4 separate regions of the Homo sapiens genome follow, and regions 1, 2 and 3 are each linked to region 4. The links are contacts of gene promoters, found by promoter capture Hi-C in human tissues and cell types (Jung and others, 2019). All regions are on one chromosome and are shown on one strand. Each heading gives the region's core, a stretch centred on a gene start or on the middle of the fragment in contact. The rest is flanking DNA. Distances are from core to core; before and after follow the strand shown. Region 1 overlaps NRG3 (neuregulin 3). Region 2 overlaps NRG3 (neuregulin 3). Region 3 overlaps NRG3 (neuregulin 3). Region 4 holds the start of NRG3 (neuregulin 3).

The links. The method cuts DNA at HindIII sites, captures the fragments that hold promoters and counts their contacts. A contact is called where the count stands out against the background at its distance.
Region 1: a fragment that was not itself captured here is called in contact with the fragment with the promoter of NRG3 in region 4 in 2 of the 25 tissues and cell types used here (dorsolateral prefrontal cortex and hippocampus).
Region 2: a contact is called between a fragment that was not itself captured here and the fragment with the promoter of NRG3 in region 4, in 3 of the 25 tissues and cell types used here (dorsolateral prefrontal cortex, hippocampus and neural progenitor cells).
Region 3: a fragment that was not itself captured here is called in contact with the fragment with the promoter of NRG3 in region 4 in 2 of the 25 tissues and cell types used here (mesendoderm cells and thymus).

What each region holds. Positions count from the first base shown.
Region 1 is chr10:82,089,026-82,092,770 of GRCh38, forward strand. All of the region lies in intron 1 of NRG3 (neuregulin 3), which reads left to right. Among named protein-coding and RNA genes, the nearest start is that of NRG3-AS1, 140 kb to the right of the region's middle. The HindIII fragment of the contact is 3,099 bases long and covers 1-2,849 here.
Region 2 is chr10:82,037,265-82,041,147 of GRCh38, forward strand. All of the region lies in intron 1 of NRG3 (neuregulin 3), which reads left to right. It overlaps LOC124902472 (a long non-coding RNA gene), which reads left to right. Exons shown (of 2, transcript XR_007062219.1): 1 at 1-228; 2 at 339-3,883. Among named protein-coding and RNA genes, the nearest start is that of NRG3, 160 kb to the left of the region's middle. The HindIII fragment of the contact is 4,896 bases long and covers 1-3,883 here.
Region 3 is chr10:82,053,717-82,057,564 of GRCh38, forward strand. All of the region lies in intron 1 of NRG3 (neuregulin 3), which reads left to right. It overlaps LOC124902472 (a long non-coding RNA gene), which reads left to right. Exons shown (of 2, transcript XR_007062219.1): 2 at 1-1,339. Among named protein-coding and RNA genes, the nearest start is that of NRG3-AS1, 180 kb to the right of the region's middle. The HindIII fragment of the contact is 4,528 bases long and covers 1-3,848 here.
Region 4 is chr10:81,873,202-81,877,213 of GRCh38, forward strand. It overlaps NRG3 (neuregulin 3), which reads left to right and starts at 1,993. Exons shown (of 9, transcript NM_001010848.4): 1 at 1,993-2,962. The coding sequence starts at 2,140. LOC124902549 (a long non-coding RNA gene) reads right to left here and starts at 1,317. Exons shown (of 2, transcript XR_007062377.1): 1 at 1,148-1,317; 2 at 171-300. RefSeq lists an enhancer at 2,942-3,704. The HindIII fragment of the contact is 10,350 bases long and covers 1-4,012 here.

The sequences.
Region 1 (3,745 bases), core at 50-2,549, 220 kb after region 4:
AAATGAAATGTCAAATGATGAAAATTATATGATTCAGGTTTGGGATGCTGGATCTTTATTTTCAGGGACTTATTTCAAATCCAGGTACAAGTCTACAGTTAGTTTTAGGAATTTTAGTGAGCAATGGGCAAATAAGTTAATGCTAGTAAAAGATTGCCATATTACTGCATTTTGTTATTGAAATGCTAATTTATAAGTAGCAAATTAGCATTTAAAAAGACACAATTTTTGTTAAAATAGTGGCCTTTCTTACATTTTGTATTAGAGCTTTACTTTTTTTCTGCTTTAAGCTTCACAATGCAGTGGCAGCTTGTTTCACTTGAGCGTTCTTATTGATTATAACTGCTGGTATGAGGCAATCTGTGCTTCCCTTGTGTTCTGCCTAACAGAGGTTATTTCTTTGCATGATATGGAGATGGATATGGAAGAATCTGGGCTGTCAGGGAAGGAAGTGAGAGCCAGAGAGGAGAAAGCAGCCAGGGGGTGGAGTGGTGAGCCTAATTCCCAGCTCTTAGACAATGAGATAGCTAGGAGCAAACCTCTGTTCATTCTTGCCTGACAGTTGTCATGGCAACTCTCAATCCAGTGACCTCTTTTAGTTCTCTAATAAACGAGTTGAATATTTGTTAAGTTTTTGGTTTGTTTGTTTTTAGTATCTAATTCTCTTTGAGATGATCAAGCTGCAAACTGATTCCATACCTTATTGATTCAGACTTTGTAAAAAGATATTATGCAAAGTTGAAGATGTGTAGATTTAAACATTTCAATCTTTCTTTTAAGAGAATTTTCTCCACAATAGGAAGGCATGTGGGCATTTTATGGTCTTAGCCAACATAAGCATTACACTTATGAAATTGGTCTAGCCTTCTAGGCTCCTGCCCCAGTGAGGTCCCTCCTCAGTTCTGTGATCATAGGCAAGTCAGTTCCCTGCCCCAGCTCTTTGCCCTCTTCCATGGCATGGTGGGGTTGAAATTGACAGAGTCACATTTCCCTTCTGACTTTAAAGCTTTCTGACTCTGAATACATAATATATAAGTGGGTTTCTCTTTTTGACATTACATACTGTAGTGAAGTACAGTCCTGTAACAGGCATCTGCAGACTACAGACGCACGTTACCATGCAGATTGCTATTAATGTACAGTTCTCTCCATTTAATTTGCTGTGGTTTCCAAGACTACTATATTTTTTATTGAGAATACTAATAGCCTGTGTGAGGTATGAAATGAATACATAGTTTCAATAGGACTGGGTTAGTGACTGTTGGAGAAAATATCTTGAATTAGAGTACACTGTTTTATTGTTTATAGCTATCAGAAAGTTCTCCTGTGAGGACAATAATATAATGATCTCTATCCTACTATGTGCTACACTTTATTTAATTGGTTGAGATGAACATATGTTGATTAAGAATAAATTTTTAAAATTTTACTAAATTTGAGAAAAGCAACAAAGTATGAGGAAAACATATATGCCAACAACTGAAAATAAAAAGCAGGTGATTCCATTGTTTTTTAATGAAGCACCAGTCATTTCCGTTGGGATTAGAATCCATTGTGCTAGGAAAGTATTTACAGCATGATGCTGCCATATTTGAATAAAGAAGGGACGAGTGGATTGCCTAAATGGGGTTGAAACCATGTCAGGAGCACATTACAACATAAACCAGAACTCAGCTGAGTATCCAATAATGTTAATGGGGGCAAAACAAGACTTATTACCATTTGAACTCTATATCTGAAATGGGAATCCGATAACATGGCAGAAATAACGTTTGGTTTGGGACTAAAAACATCCTAGAGTGTATCTAAGGGCTTAAGTATTCATGAATTTTGTTTGTACACTTACATTATGTGTTGTGTTAGAAAAGGCAGAAAAAGGTAGTGCTTCATGTTTGGTTGCAAAGACTCCTGCCTCAGCCTTGTTACACAGGAGCATAACGGTGCAGTGTGAAGCATTTAAGACAAAAACGTTTTAGAGTCAGATCTGAGTAAAATCTGAGATTTCACACTTCCAGCAGTGTAACCTAAGACTAGTTTGTTTTTTTTTTAATTTCTCCTGAGGCAAAATTTTATTTTTTTCTCTTTCTTCCATTTCATTGTAACCTTTTAAAAATTGTGATAAGATATACATAATATTTTTCAGTGCAACCATTCAAACATGTGGCTTATCCATTGATCGGTAGTCTTAGATACATTCACAATGTCGCGTAACTATTATCACTGTCTATGTCCCCGATTTTCCTATCATCTCCAAAAACAACTTTGTAACCATGAAAGAATAACTTCTCCTTCTCCTCCTCCTCATGCCACCTGCAGCCATGGTAACCTCTATTGTACTTTCTGTCTCTATGAATTTGCCTGTTTTAGGTAGCTCATGTAAGTGTAATCATATATTTGTCCTTCAGTGTCTGGTGTATTTCACTAAGCATGGTTTCAAGGTCCATTCATGTTCTAGCATTTTTCAAGATTTCCTTCCTTTTTAAGGCTGAATTGGATTCCATTGCATGCATATACCACACTTTATCTGTTCATCTGCTAAATAGTTGATTTGGTTGCCTCTGTCCCTTGGCTGTTGTGAATAATGCTCCCAAGACCAGCTGTACAAACAGATATTCGAGTCTCTGATTTCAATTTTGTGTGTATATGCCAAAAAATTGAATTGCTGAGTCATATGGTAATTCTATTTTTAGTGTTTTTGAGGAACTACCATGCTGTTTCCACAGCAGCTGCGCCATTCCTGCCAACAATGCATAGGTGTTCTAATTTCTCCACGTTCTCACCGACACTTGTGATTTTGTGTTTTTATTTTAAATAATAACCATCTTAATGGATGTGAAACAGTAAGTTGGATTTGCACTTTCCCAGTAGTCAATTATGTTGAGTGTCCCCTCATGCACCTATTAGTCATCAATATATCTTACTTGGAGAAATGGTGTGAAAGGGTATACAGTTTTCAAGGTTGAAACATGACAATAATTAGGATGATTGGACAATTTAGTGAAGAAAAAATATTATTACTATAGTTAACATTTTTTTGGCACTTATTCCGTGCCAGGCTGTTACTAATGCTATAAGTGCATGATCTCAATCAACTTTTACTATGAAGTTGAAGACTATGAAGGTGCCTTTATTATGATTTCTATTGTTCACTTAAAGACATGGCATCTCAGGGTCAACAAGTATCTTGGCTTATGTTGCACAGCTTGTAAGTGGCAGAAACCTGATGCAAATTAGTTCTGCCTGACTTCAAAGCATTTGGCTGTTAACTGCTATGCCATGTTGTCTAATGCGTGGCTTGTTGCCTAATAGCCTGTCAATATATGTTAAAAATCCATTATCCCCACCCTCAACTGAACCCACACACACACACGCACACACACATGCACATGCACATTCCTCAACTTTCAAGCACCATTTTCATCCTAGTATAAAATGATACCCACCCACCCCCTACCCAAGATTCCCAATCTTCAGTCATCTGTCATGTAATTTCATTCATGTGCCTTGGAGAGGATTCCCTAAATTTATTTCCACAAAGAAGCATATCTTAATTAGGTCTGTTGGGAGATCATTCTACATGGGTCTCTTGTATTTCTGTTTCTATAGCAGGAGAAGCACTATGAAATTTGTTTGGATTATATGTTGAAGGACATTTGTAGAGCAAATAACCTTGGAGAAGGAGATACTATGTCTTTCTTCCAGTATATTAAAGACAAGGTTTCCATTTGGGGAAAAAGTCAGGGCA
Region 2 (3,883 bases), core at 443-2,942, 160 kb after region 4:
CTGGCCAAACAGTCATGGCACAAGGATCCTCTGTACTTTTACTGGGCACCAAGCCCAGCTCCATCAGGGCAGAATGTGGAGCTCAGCAGTTTGAAGTCTGGTCTCCATGGCACTAGGGCCAAAGGCAAGCTACAGAAATTCCAAGGCAACTGCATTGTCTCTGGTGTAGGCACATGACACATTCCACCCAAAAAATTAAGAGAGGCTGTATCCTGTCCCTGATCCAAGGTAGGAAGAAAATTCTCTCCTTTTCCCTTCTTTGTTCACATTATTCAAATTGCTTTCAAACGGTTTGAAAAATCGATTTTTTTCTAATAAACTCATGGTCTTTTAAACAGGTCTAACAGCATTGGCAGGATCTCATATGAATGAGCACAGTACTAGAAGACATCACGATGAGGCCTTATTCCAACTTCAGGTTGCAGTGTGTTTTCAACATGGCACTTAAACTTGGTGAACCTCAGTTTTCTCTTATTTTAATTACAATATTCATGGCATCTGCCTCACACGGGCTTTCCAGGGTTGTTTTGAGAACTAAGGGGAAAACTGTGTGTTCAAGAATTTGGCAAACTGGGGACATAGTGTGTGTATGCCATGTTTATGAATACTCCTAAGTAAGTCAACTTCGTAAGGGTTGGGTCTCTGTGGCATACAGAAGGTGCTCATGAATGCCTCAAAAGTCGTGGAAAGGAATCTTAGTGTGGGGAGGGGGGAGAGAGAGAGAGAGAGCAAAAAAAGAAGAAAGAATTCAAATCTCGGAAAACCCAAATATGCTTTTGAAATTAGTAATCTACACCCAGTAAAAATCTTAAAATCTTGCTTTTGTTCATTATGGGATACCCAAGAGATTTAATCTTTCACTAATTGTTTAAAAATCTTTTATAAACTGAAAGCACACCCAACATTAAGAGTTCTGAGCATTCTGAATTACTTACATTTGTAAAATTCCTTTTGAAAAATGTAAACCAAGCTTATTTCATAATGGTTTCTTCAAATCACTTTTTCCTATTGTAGTGTCCTTTACTGTCTATACACGGGATCACATGTTAATAGTACCAACTGTCCTGAGCCCTTTCCAAACACCAGGCTGTATCTAACCCTTTATCATAAGATGTCTCATTGACTTCTCATTGCAACCCTAAGATGGTCATTTTTACCATTTTACCCACTTTGCAGTTGAAGCTGGTTGGAGCAGTTACATAACTCAAGAAAAGGGGCAATGCTCATAAGTAAGAAGATGAGGACTCAATTTCAGACTACTAGAAGTCACAACCCATGAGTTTTGTTTTGTTTTTTCTTCAAAGAGCCATTCAAGACTCCATTTGCCAAGCCTAGACATGGCTTTTATGGAGTGAATTTGATCTTTATTAATAGCTGGAGGCACTGCATAAAAGGAACTTCTGGCCAGAGCCTAGTGGTAGTTAATCCCAGTGACCCAGCCTCATTCATTCATCTGTTTGCTTCTGGGACTACCACCTGAACATTTGTTTTGTCTTGGCTTCTTCCCTGCAGCTTGATACTTCACATGTGTCTCTGTTCTGTCTCTCCCAGTTCATCAAACTGGTTTCTGTCATCCTCTTTTCCATGTTTGACTTCTTGAGCACTCCACTTGTCCTCCCTGATCAACACTAGCCTAGTGAGGAAGAGAGAGGCCATGTATTCTATTTTCAGGTTGTTTTATGAAGCAGTTAGGCCCCACTGAGCTCAGAGGAGTGTGCTAAGGAAGTCTATGGAAACAATGCACAGTTGTATAATTTTGTTTTGAAATGTGTTCTGATAATACTTTTTCAGGCATCAAAGTTGCCTAATCCCTAAAAATATACAGGTGTATTATATAAAGAGGATAAGATATTATGCAGCTTAAACTCCTGGAAAAGTTCTCATTAGTTATATTTTACAACCAAGTTCCAATGCGAAGCAGCCTGTTTGTGAGTGATGATTAGCGCTGCCAATGCCCCAGCAGTAGCAGGAAAGAATGTCATGAAATGATCCAACTTCCATTAGAAAATAATGACTGTCTTGGCTGAGCAACATTTTTTAAATTAAATACCAACAATTCCTAGTAATCAGAGAGCCTATTAGCCATGAAATTCGATTTCAGTATCAGAGACTATTCACTTACCAAATGGGAGCCAAATAATTGTGAGTGGAATTTACAGTGCCGCATTGGGGATAGTAGTAAATATTATGGAAGTGGCACTAGGGTATAGCTTCAGCTCTGGGGAAATGTGGCATTTTAAAATTTCAGTAGCAAGTTAGTGTGATGATTAACAGAATGCAGTCATTAATTTCCAAGGCATGATATTTTCTCTTTAGTCATTTGAGAACCCAAGGTCTTACAGTGAACTCGTCATTAATTGCTACTTAGCTTCACTGGGCTTTTCCAAATGTCCATCAGCTCCCTTGAGATAAAATCAGGAATCTTTGCATTAGAATTAGCCTTAATTTATGGAGGGAGGTGTTCTTGATCCCAGGAGTGATCTTTAGGAAGACTGGAAAATAAGTTTATCATTTCTGCCAGCTCAGGTCTAAGTATTCTCTCTTCTTTTCACATGGTCTCTCCTGACGCATCACTGCCCAGGTCACCTCTTCAATCCTTCCTCATTCTTTGCAATCCCTGTTCAGGGATATGGGAAGAAAGTATTCACTATCTACTTCTGCCATGAATTGTGTCAAGTAACCCAGACACAAATAGTGGAAGTATATTATTAAGCAGGCCCATGTAGATTAAATACTGCTCCACAGCACAAAGTTAATAAGGGTTAAGAAGGAGGATTCATACCTAGGTCTATCCTCAGAACACTTGTTCTTTACATTATTGCACTATGGAAATAAAAGTTGATAAAATTTTAGGTGAATACATTGCTCTGCCATTTTCTAATTTCGTTTTAATACATTTTGAAGGAAACTTAAGCTTGGAAATTAATGTTTTCCACATGCAGCACTAAATTCCACCACCGTCTTTCAACAGTACAAATCCAATGGAGGAACTTTCAGTATTTTTCAAACATATATATACATCCATGCATATGTATACATGTATAGTATACACAAATATACCCATATGTATACACATGCACACACAAACACAGACATATATACATATATATACACTTATATACATATATGTTATATATACAATATATATGTAATATGTAATCTTTCATAATATCTTTCTTTTTTATCCATGAGGACTGAACTTTGCCTAACTGAAAAATCTCTCTCTTGGCACCCATATATGTGTCTCTACAAACTTGTTGGCAAACTGTATACTGGCACATGCATTCTACAAGACCACCAGGCTCAAAAGCAGAACATTTGGCGGATAGAAACTGCAGTGGCAGGCTTTCTAAAGAATAAGGCAGGAGAAGAACCCCACAGAGATGCATGGAGAAGATAAAACAATTTGTCTGTTGTCACACCCTAGGAAGGGTCAAGCCAGGCATTCAATCCATACTTAGCTGGTCCCAAAGTCCATATTCTGTCCACTACATTAACCTGCTGCTGTCAGAAAAAGAAAATGACAGATTTATAGTTCTCCTCTCCCTGCCCCAGTATATGTCAGCATTTTTAGGTATATTTGAACAAAAACTGAAGTTCATGCATGTCAATTGTTCTTCTAAAAGCCTTCTTAGTGGAAACATAGGGAAACATGGCCTTTAGACATGCCCAAAGTGAACACATTTGTTAGAAAACTCAGTGTTATGATGTATCATTTAGAGTTAACAGGTAAAACATTGCATATCAGCTGATTTTAGGAAGGACCAAATGCCATGCATATTTCTGCCATGAGTGCTTTTTACTTGCCATAGTGGGCCATAAGTAATTAAACTATGTCATTCGCATTTGAAAATACCATGACTACAGGCCTTACAAATAGTCT
Region 3 (3,848 bases), core at 359-2,858, 180 kb after region 4:
TAAGTGAAATAAACATTTTTTTTGTAAGGACATAAACATTGTGATGGTATGTAAAGCCTGGAAGAAGTGCAGGGAGTGTTGGGTGTGCAATTTTAAATGGATAGTTTGGAAGGAGCTCAGTGGAAAAGAGGTATTTGAGCAATTATTTGAATGAGGTGAGAATGTAAATCATGTGGAATGTAACGGGAAATTATTTAAAGCTGCAGCGCAGCAAATGGAAAGCTCATGGGGTGGAATCATGTCTGATATCTTTAGGGAACAGCTGGTGGCTAACCTATTAGGAGCAAAGTAAGCAAAGGTTAGAGAATGGTAGGATATGAGGTCGGAGAAGTAATAGGGTTCTAAACATACAGAGGCCTTAAGAGTGACAGTGAGAATTTTGGCTCTTACTCTGAGGTACAGGGGAAGTCATTAGAGGGTATTGTACAGAGGAGTGAAGTGATTTGATTTATGTTTTAAAAGGATTACTCTAGTTGTTGTTCTGAAAATAGACTGTGGTGCAGTAAGGCAGAAGGAGGGAGACCATTAGAAAGCTTTTTCAATAATTGAGGTGAGAAATGATGACAGCTTAGACCAGAGATATTGAGAAGTGGCTGGATTCTGGGTATATTTTGAAGGTGGAAGTGACAGGATTTGCTCATGGCTTAGTGGTAAGGTGTGATGGAGGAAAGGAGTCAAGGATGACTCGAAGACTTTGTGCATAAAAGACTAAGTGGAAGAGTAGGATTTTTATTAATTGAGATGGGGAGGACTGTACAGGATTCTCATTTAGATGTGGGTGGAGCACATAAGGGTCTTGATTTGGAATGACTTTTAGATATTTAAGTTGAGCTGACAAGTAGGCAGTTAGATATATGAATATGGTATTGGCATGGGGAATGGAGGAATAGATCCAAATATTGAGCTCCAAGGGACTCCAATATTTAGAGGCTGGAGAAGTGGGGAGGAACCAGCAAAGGGGAATGAAAACGAGTGACAAGAGAAAGAAAATCAGAAAAGTCTAGTATTGAGAAAGCCAAGGAAGAGAAGTGTTTGAATTAAGAAAGAATGAGGCTGAGCCAGGAGGATCTCTTGAGCCCACGAGTTAGAGACCAGCCTAGGAAATACAGTGACACCCCAGATCTATAAAAAAAAATAGCCAGGTGTGGTGGTGTGTGCCTGTAGTCCCAGCTACTAAGGAGGCTGAGGCAGGAGGATTGCTTGAACATGTGAAATATAACGGGAAGTTCAAGGTTACAGTGAGCTAGATCATACCAGCACACTCTAGCCTGGGTGACAGCACAAGACTCTGTCTCTCTTAAAACAAATCAAAGAAAGAAAGAAAGGAAAGAAGGGAAAAGAAGAAAGAAAAGAAAGGAAAAGAACAGAAAAGAAAAGCAAAAAGGAAGGAAAAAAGAGCCACAGTCTCAGCTGCTGCTGACAGGTCAAATAAAATGAAATAGAGAGGTCATTGGTGATCTTGATGAAAAAAGAAAAAAGAAGCCGAGCGCGGTGGCTCACTCCTGTAATCCCAGCACTTTGGGAGGCCGAGGCGAGCAGATCGAGGTCAGGAGATCGAGACAATCCTGGCTAACACAGTGAAAACCCATCTCTACTAAAAATACAAAAAAAATAGCCAGGCATGGTGACAGGCGCCTGTAATCTCAGCTACTCGGGAGGCTGAGGCAGGAGAATGGCCTGAACCCAGAAGGCAGAGTTTGCAGTGAACCAAGATTGCACCACTGCCCTCCAGCCTGGGCGACAGAGTGAGACTCCGTCTCAAAAAAAAAAAAAAAAGAACAACAACAAAAAACAGTTTTAGTGTAGTGATGAGCAAAAACTGACTGGAGTGAGGTAAAGAGAAAATGGAAAAAGGCAAATTGGTGGTAATTATTTAATTTTTTTATCTAATTGTTTTGAGGATTTTTTCTATAAAAGGAGCAAAGAGCAAAGTGATAGGGTGATAATTAGAATAGGAAGTAGACACAAGGAAGGGATTTCAAAATGGGAAAAATGACAGCACATTTGTAAAGCGATGAAAAATTTACAATGCAAGAAAGAGAAGGGGAGTTAATATGCAACAATCTTATGTCGATGAGAAGGGCTGGAACAGGCACTCTAGTGAAGGGACTGGAGATAAAGGCAGGTTTATCTGTAATGGTTCAGATTAAGGAGTGAAATGCATGGTAGGCTTGTGTGAGTTCCCTTTGAATTTCTCCTTTTGTTCTTAGGAAATAAGAAGCACAGGTCATTCAGAGGAGAAGATGTGAAATCATTCTTTAAGGGAATAGGATAGTGAATGGAAAACGGAAATCTTCCCAGGCAGTTTCGAAGACCACTTGAGGCTAATGGTCATGTGTGGAAAGCAAAATCATTCAACCTTGTGCCTTTTAAAAAATTTTGTCCCATCATAGTACCTGTGTGGGAGTGTGACTATAGCATAATGGAGAATTTTGTTTAGCGAGTTAGACATTTTTTCTTGGTCAGTACAATGGCATGAGAGATGGTTAAGGAGTTTAATACTTGAGCAAGAGAATTATTAAAACAGCATGCTGGAGATTCTAAGCTTGGTCAGGTGGGTGTGATGACTTTAAAGAGTTGAATATGGTAGTAAAATGGTGAAAGGATTAGTGTATTTGAAAAAAAAAATTAGTGTTATGCTACTGAAAGGAATGCCATAGGCTCACTCTGATAGGAATCTTTGAAGCTAAAAGGATGGAGTGGTTAGTTGTTGGTAATGAGAAGATTTAGATACAATTATAGAAGTGAGGGGCTAAAGATGATTGCAGAATAAAGCCACAGGAAATCAAAGAATGGAGAGGCTGAAGTATTGGAAGGATCGTCAAACTTGTTTAAATCTGAGAATTTTGACAGGAACAGTGTAGATGTGACACAGAGCCAGGAACTACAGTCTTACAGCTATGACATTCCATCTGGGATTTTTCAAGTATCTCATTGAAATTTTCTTTTTTAACAGTCTAGTTGGGGTTAGCTCTGAGTTTTTGTTTAAATAGAAATGTTTTTATTTTGACTGTAGCTTTCAAAGATGCTTTTCTGGCTAGAATTCCAGGTTAACAATTATGTTCTCTTAGCATTTTCGAAATATTGTTCCATTGCTTTCTGACTTTTGTGTTTGCTATTGAGAAGCCAGTAGTCTAATTATTGTTTATTGTGGATGACTTTTTTTCCCACAGCTGTTTTTTAAAACTTCTATTTATTTTTACACTGCAATTTCAGTAGGATTTATCTACGTGTAGAATTCACAACCTTCTGATTCTGATCATTGTTATCTCTCATTAATTCTGGAAAATTCCCATGAATTTTTACTCCAAATAATCATTGTCTTTATTTTCTATTAGGATTTTGCACTTTATACTGCTTGTTGGATCTTTCCACTCTATTATCCTTTCCTTAAAATATTTCTTTCCTATTTTCCATCACCCCTTATATGTGTACTTCATTTCTTGTATTTTCTTCAGATATTTTTTCAATGTACTAATTTTCCTTTAAGCCATATCTGATAGTCTTTTTAACGTTACATTTTTCATTTCTATAGAGTTATTTGGTTCTTTATCAAATACGTATGTATAATTTTGTTAGTTCTTTTTTCCTAACTCCTACTCCAATTTCTGTTATTTATTTAAACATGTTACACATGCATGATTTATAGTCTCTGTGTCATAAGTCCAATATCTGTTGTTCTTTGGTGTTTAATTCTGTGGTATGTTGGTTCTGCCTACACGTATACATGGCAGCTTATTTCCTCATTTGTATAATAATTTTTTAAATTCTTTTGATCTTTGATCCTTTGAAATTGTTGGGGTAATTTTTAGGCTACATTTAAATTGTCTTCAGAAAGGATTTCTAGG
Region 4 (4,012 bases), core at 743-3,242:
TAAAGGAATTTGGATTCAAAGGATTCTGGTTTTTTTTTTTTTGCTTACAATTTTTGGAACCATAATTCAGCACTACTAGATTAAGGCATGTTCCATCAAACTAAAAATCAAAAGCTTTCCTATGGGGAAAGTCTCAATGTTATAGCTGAAAGAGGTGACAGCCGCATTACTGCCATCAAAAATAATTTATTAACCTTGTCTGTGCAAAGTACTCTGGTAGGCACCAAACCCCAGGGGCTTCCTGTTTCAATGCATCCTCTGCTCTCTGCAGTCTCTTCAGTGTAACGTTTGGCTCTCCCCCTGTGAATAAAATGGATACCTTGAAAACTTCATCTTTGTGGAGACTATCACAGGACAAGAGAATGCGGGCTCCATCATCCACGCCAATCAGACAGTGCTGGGGGAATGTATTAGAAAGTTGCCTTTCTCAACCTCATATTCTTAACGCTTGTAAATAAAAACCCCTCCTCTTCGGTTTTCACTTTAGACCAGGAAATCTGGGGAGAGTTGGCAAGCAAGGTTTTGCACTGTCGGCATATGTCATGCTAACACTGGCTCTTTGCCCCTTGCCTCGGCAGGTACCACACAGCGCTGGAGAAATAGGTACACAGGTGCCTCCCCAGCCAAGGGAAGAAAGCAGTAACGGAATTTGGGAGTCCAACCCCAAATCCTTTCATATTTACCTCTCACAAACACTTGCCTTGTAACGTGTGTACCTGTGCGTACATTTACAGGTAAAGACAATATTTTAAGGCAAGTTCACATAAATGGCTTGGAGATATCTGACAGGTCTGATTATACAAAGGTCTTCTGCTCCACCTGCATCTCTCAGGAACTCAGGCAAAGGTGGCCTTCCATCCAGCCGCACCGCCATCCGGCAGGGGAGGGCACAGGCACCCTCCCACCCGCATCCGCCCCCGCCCCCTCGCCCAGCAGCGTCAGTCTCTGACCCCACTGGATCCGTACAGGAGACGACTCACAATCGGTCGGAAGCTGCTTTTGCCCCCCCACCCCACCGCAAACGGGGGTTTGCTTGGATCATTTATCTATCTTGTGTGCATTAAGAAACCAGCATTAGCTGCTAGTGGGAGGCGCTACTCTGCCCGAATCCCAGCCCGCCGCGGCGATTCTGCACACACACACGCACCAGCCTGGCAGCCAGAGCCCGTCTGGAGACGCCCTCAGCCCGGGGTCTGCGTTCCCCGGGACCCCCGACGCAGTCTCCCGCTTCCGTCCCCCACGCTCAACCGGGCAGGGCGCCGGGGCGTGATTTCCGATCCTCTGCCTGCTTGTTGGGTCCCTCGGAGGCGGGTCAGACCGCACCCGCCGCGGGCGCCCGGTGCGCCCCCAGCCCCTGGCTCGCGGCGGCGACAGCGGCGCTGTTCGCTGGAGTTTGACTCTCCGGCGGCGGCGGCAGCGGCGCGCAGCAGCGAACGGCTGGAGCAAGGCGAGCCGGGCCGCTAGCCCTCCGCGCTGCGCTGGGATTGGTCTCTCCAGAAGAGTGCTGGCCGAGGGTTGGCTGCGGGCCGGCTGAAGAACAGGTGCACCTCACCGCCCGGGCTCGCGGAGCAGCCGCCGAAGATCGCGGCGGCCAGGCAGGCCCTCTGTGTCGGAATGCGGGTGGCGGGCACCCGGCACCCCGCGACCGGCCGCCGGGGCCACTGAAGGCGGCGCGAGGCCCAGGCGCGGCGCGAGCGGGCGCCCCAGGGAGCGGGCTGGGCGCGGTGCCCCGAGGATGTCGGCGCTCCTGGAGCGCACGCAGGCGGCGGGCAGCAGCAGCAGCAGCGGGCGCGGGGACCCGGCGCGCAGGAGGCGGCTTGGAGGGCTGCAGACGCGCCCCGCCGCTCTCTGACCGACCGGAGGCGCCGGGGGCCCGTCTCGCCCCTCTTCCGAGCTCCTTACCGCCCCCTCCCCGGCCCCGTCCCCTCCCCCGCTCCTCTCCTCCCCGCCCGCCGCCCGCCTCTCGGGGGGAGGGGCGTGGGGGCAGGGAGCGGATTTGCATGCGGCCGCCGCGGCCGCTGCCTGCGCCCGAGCCCGCCGCCGCCGCCGGAGCCCGCGCCCGCGCCCGCGCCCGGCCCGCGCGGCCCCATGCCTCTGCCGCGGCCCTCGGGGGGGCGAAGGTGAAGACCGGCTCCTAGGATGAGTGAAGGGGCGGCCGCTGCCTCGCCACCTGGTGCCGCTTCGGCAGCCGCCGCCTCGGCCGAGGAGGGCACCGCGGCGGCTGCGGCGGCGGCAGCGGCGGGCGGGGGCCCGGACGGCGGCGGCGAAGGGGCGGCCGAGCCCCCCCGGGAGTTACGCTGTAGCGACTGCATCGTGTGGAACCGGCAGCAGACGTGGCTGTGCGTGGTACCTCTGTTCATCGGCTTCATCGGCCTGGGGCTCAGCCTCATGCTTCTCAAATGGATCGTGGTGGGCTCCGTCAAGGAGTACGTGCCCACCGACCTAGTGGACTCCAAGGGGATGGGCCAGGACCCCTTCTTCCTCTCCAAGCCCAGCTCTTTCCCCAAGGCCATGGAGACCACCACCACTACCACTTCCACCACGTCCCCCGCCACCCCCTCCGCCGGGGGTGCCGCCTCCTCCAGGACGCCCAACCGGATTAGCACTCGCCTGACCACCATCACGCGGGCGCCCACTCGCTTCCCCGGGCACCGGGTGCCCATCCGGGCCAGCCCGCGCTCCACCACAGCACGGAACACTGCGGCCCCTGCGACGGTCCCGTCCACCACGGCCCCGTTCTTCAGTAGCAGCACGCTGGGCTCCCGACCCCCGGTGCCAGGAACTCCAAGTACCCAGGCAATGCCCTCCTGGCCTACTGCGGCATACGCTACCTCCTCCTACCTTCACGATTCTACTCCCTCCTGGACCCTGTCTCCCTTTCAGGATGCTGCCTCCTCTTCTTCCTCTTCTTCCTCCTCCGCTACCACCACCACACCAGAAACTAGCACCAGCCCCAAATTTCGTAAGTAAACACTGTGTCTCAACTATGATTTACTACTGAGTTTCCCTTCTGCCCTCCTGCTGTCTTTTTCCCTCGCCGCCTGTTTTCTAGCAAGCCCCCTCCCCCATCCCAGGTTTGGGGCAGAGTGAGAGCTGATTAAAACTGGCCACCAGCGGGGAAGAAGGTGCCAGCCTGCTCTGGTTCTGGGGGGGTGGGGGCGTGTAGGAACGGGAGGGAGATTGTCAGGCTCCACTGGCCCCACTTTAGCGGGTCCCAAGTGAGAACAGATCTCCCAACTCCCTTCAAAGGGTTAACGCGAGTGCGATCCCTCCTCACTGCAGACCTGCTGGCGAGCTGCCGGATCCCGCTCCAGTAGAGGGCCAGGGAGGGAGAGAGGGCCTTCCCGAAGGCACTGAGCCCCTTCTCCGCCCGCCGGTAGGAAGGAAAGAAAGCAAAGCACATGCAAATTGACCGACGATAAACCACAAAAGGAAGTTATGTCCTTGTGTGGGGTGACGAGTTGATGGAGATAATGGTAGAATGTTGCTGAGGACGCTTCCAGCAGCCCTGACCTGGGCAGGAACCAGAAAGGGTTAATTAGAAGCCACTGGGAGACTTGGGGAAAGGAGGCGATCCAAGGCAAAGGGCTAAACTGACCTCCTAGCCTGCCTGTGGCCATTCCAAGGTGTAGACATAGATTCTGTGACCGCCGAGAGTGAGTTAACTAGGAGGAAATATGAAGGGAGCCCTGCAGAGCTGCCACCTCTAGGGTCCTGACGAAGGAGGAGTTTTTTTCAGCCCTGCCAAGCCTTTGCTTTTGTTCCGTTCCCAAAGGTGGGGTGTGAACCTTATCTCCTCTCCCTCTGTGCCTGAAAAATATAGACGAGTTGAGAGTTTTCTGCACTCAAGGGTGAGAACATCCAACCGTTTGGAAACATGTCACCGTTAGAATGTAGCATCTTCAACCTGGGCTCAGTATGAGCCAGTATACCCAAAGCATGATAGCTTTCTGTTTATTTGTATAGAAAGTGCGTATTTTCTCAACATTTTTATAAATGTTGTAGGTGACTA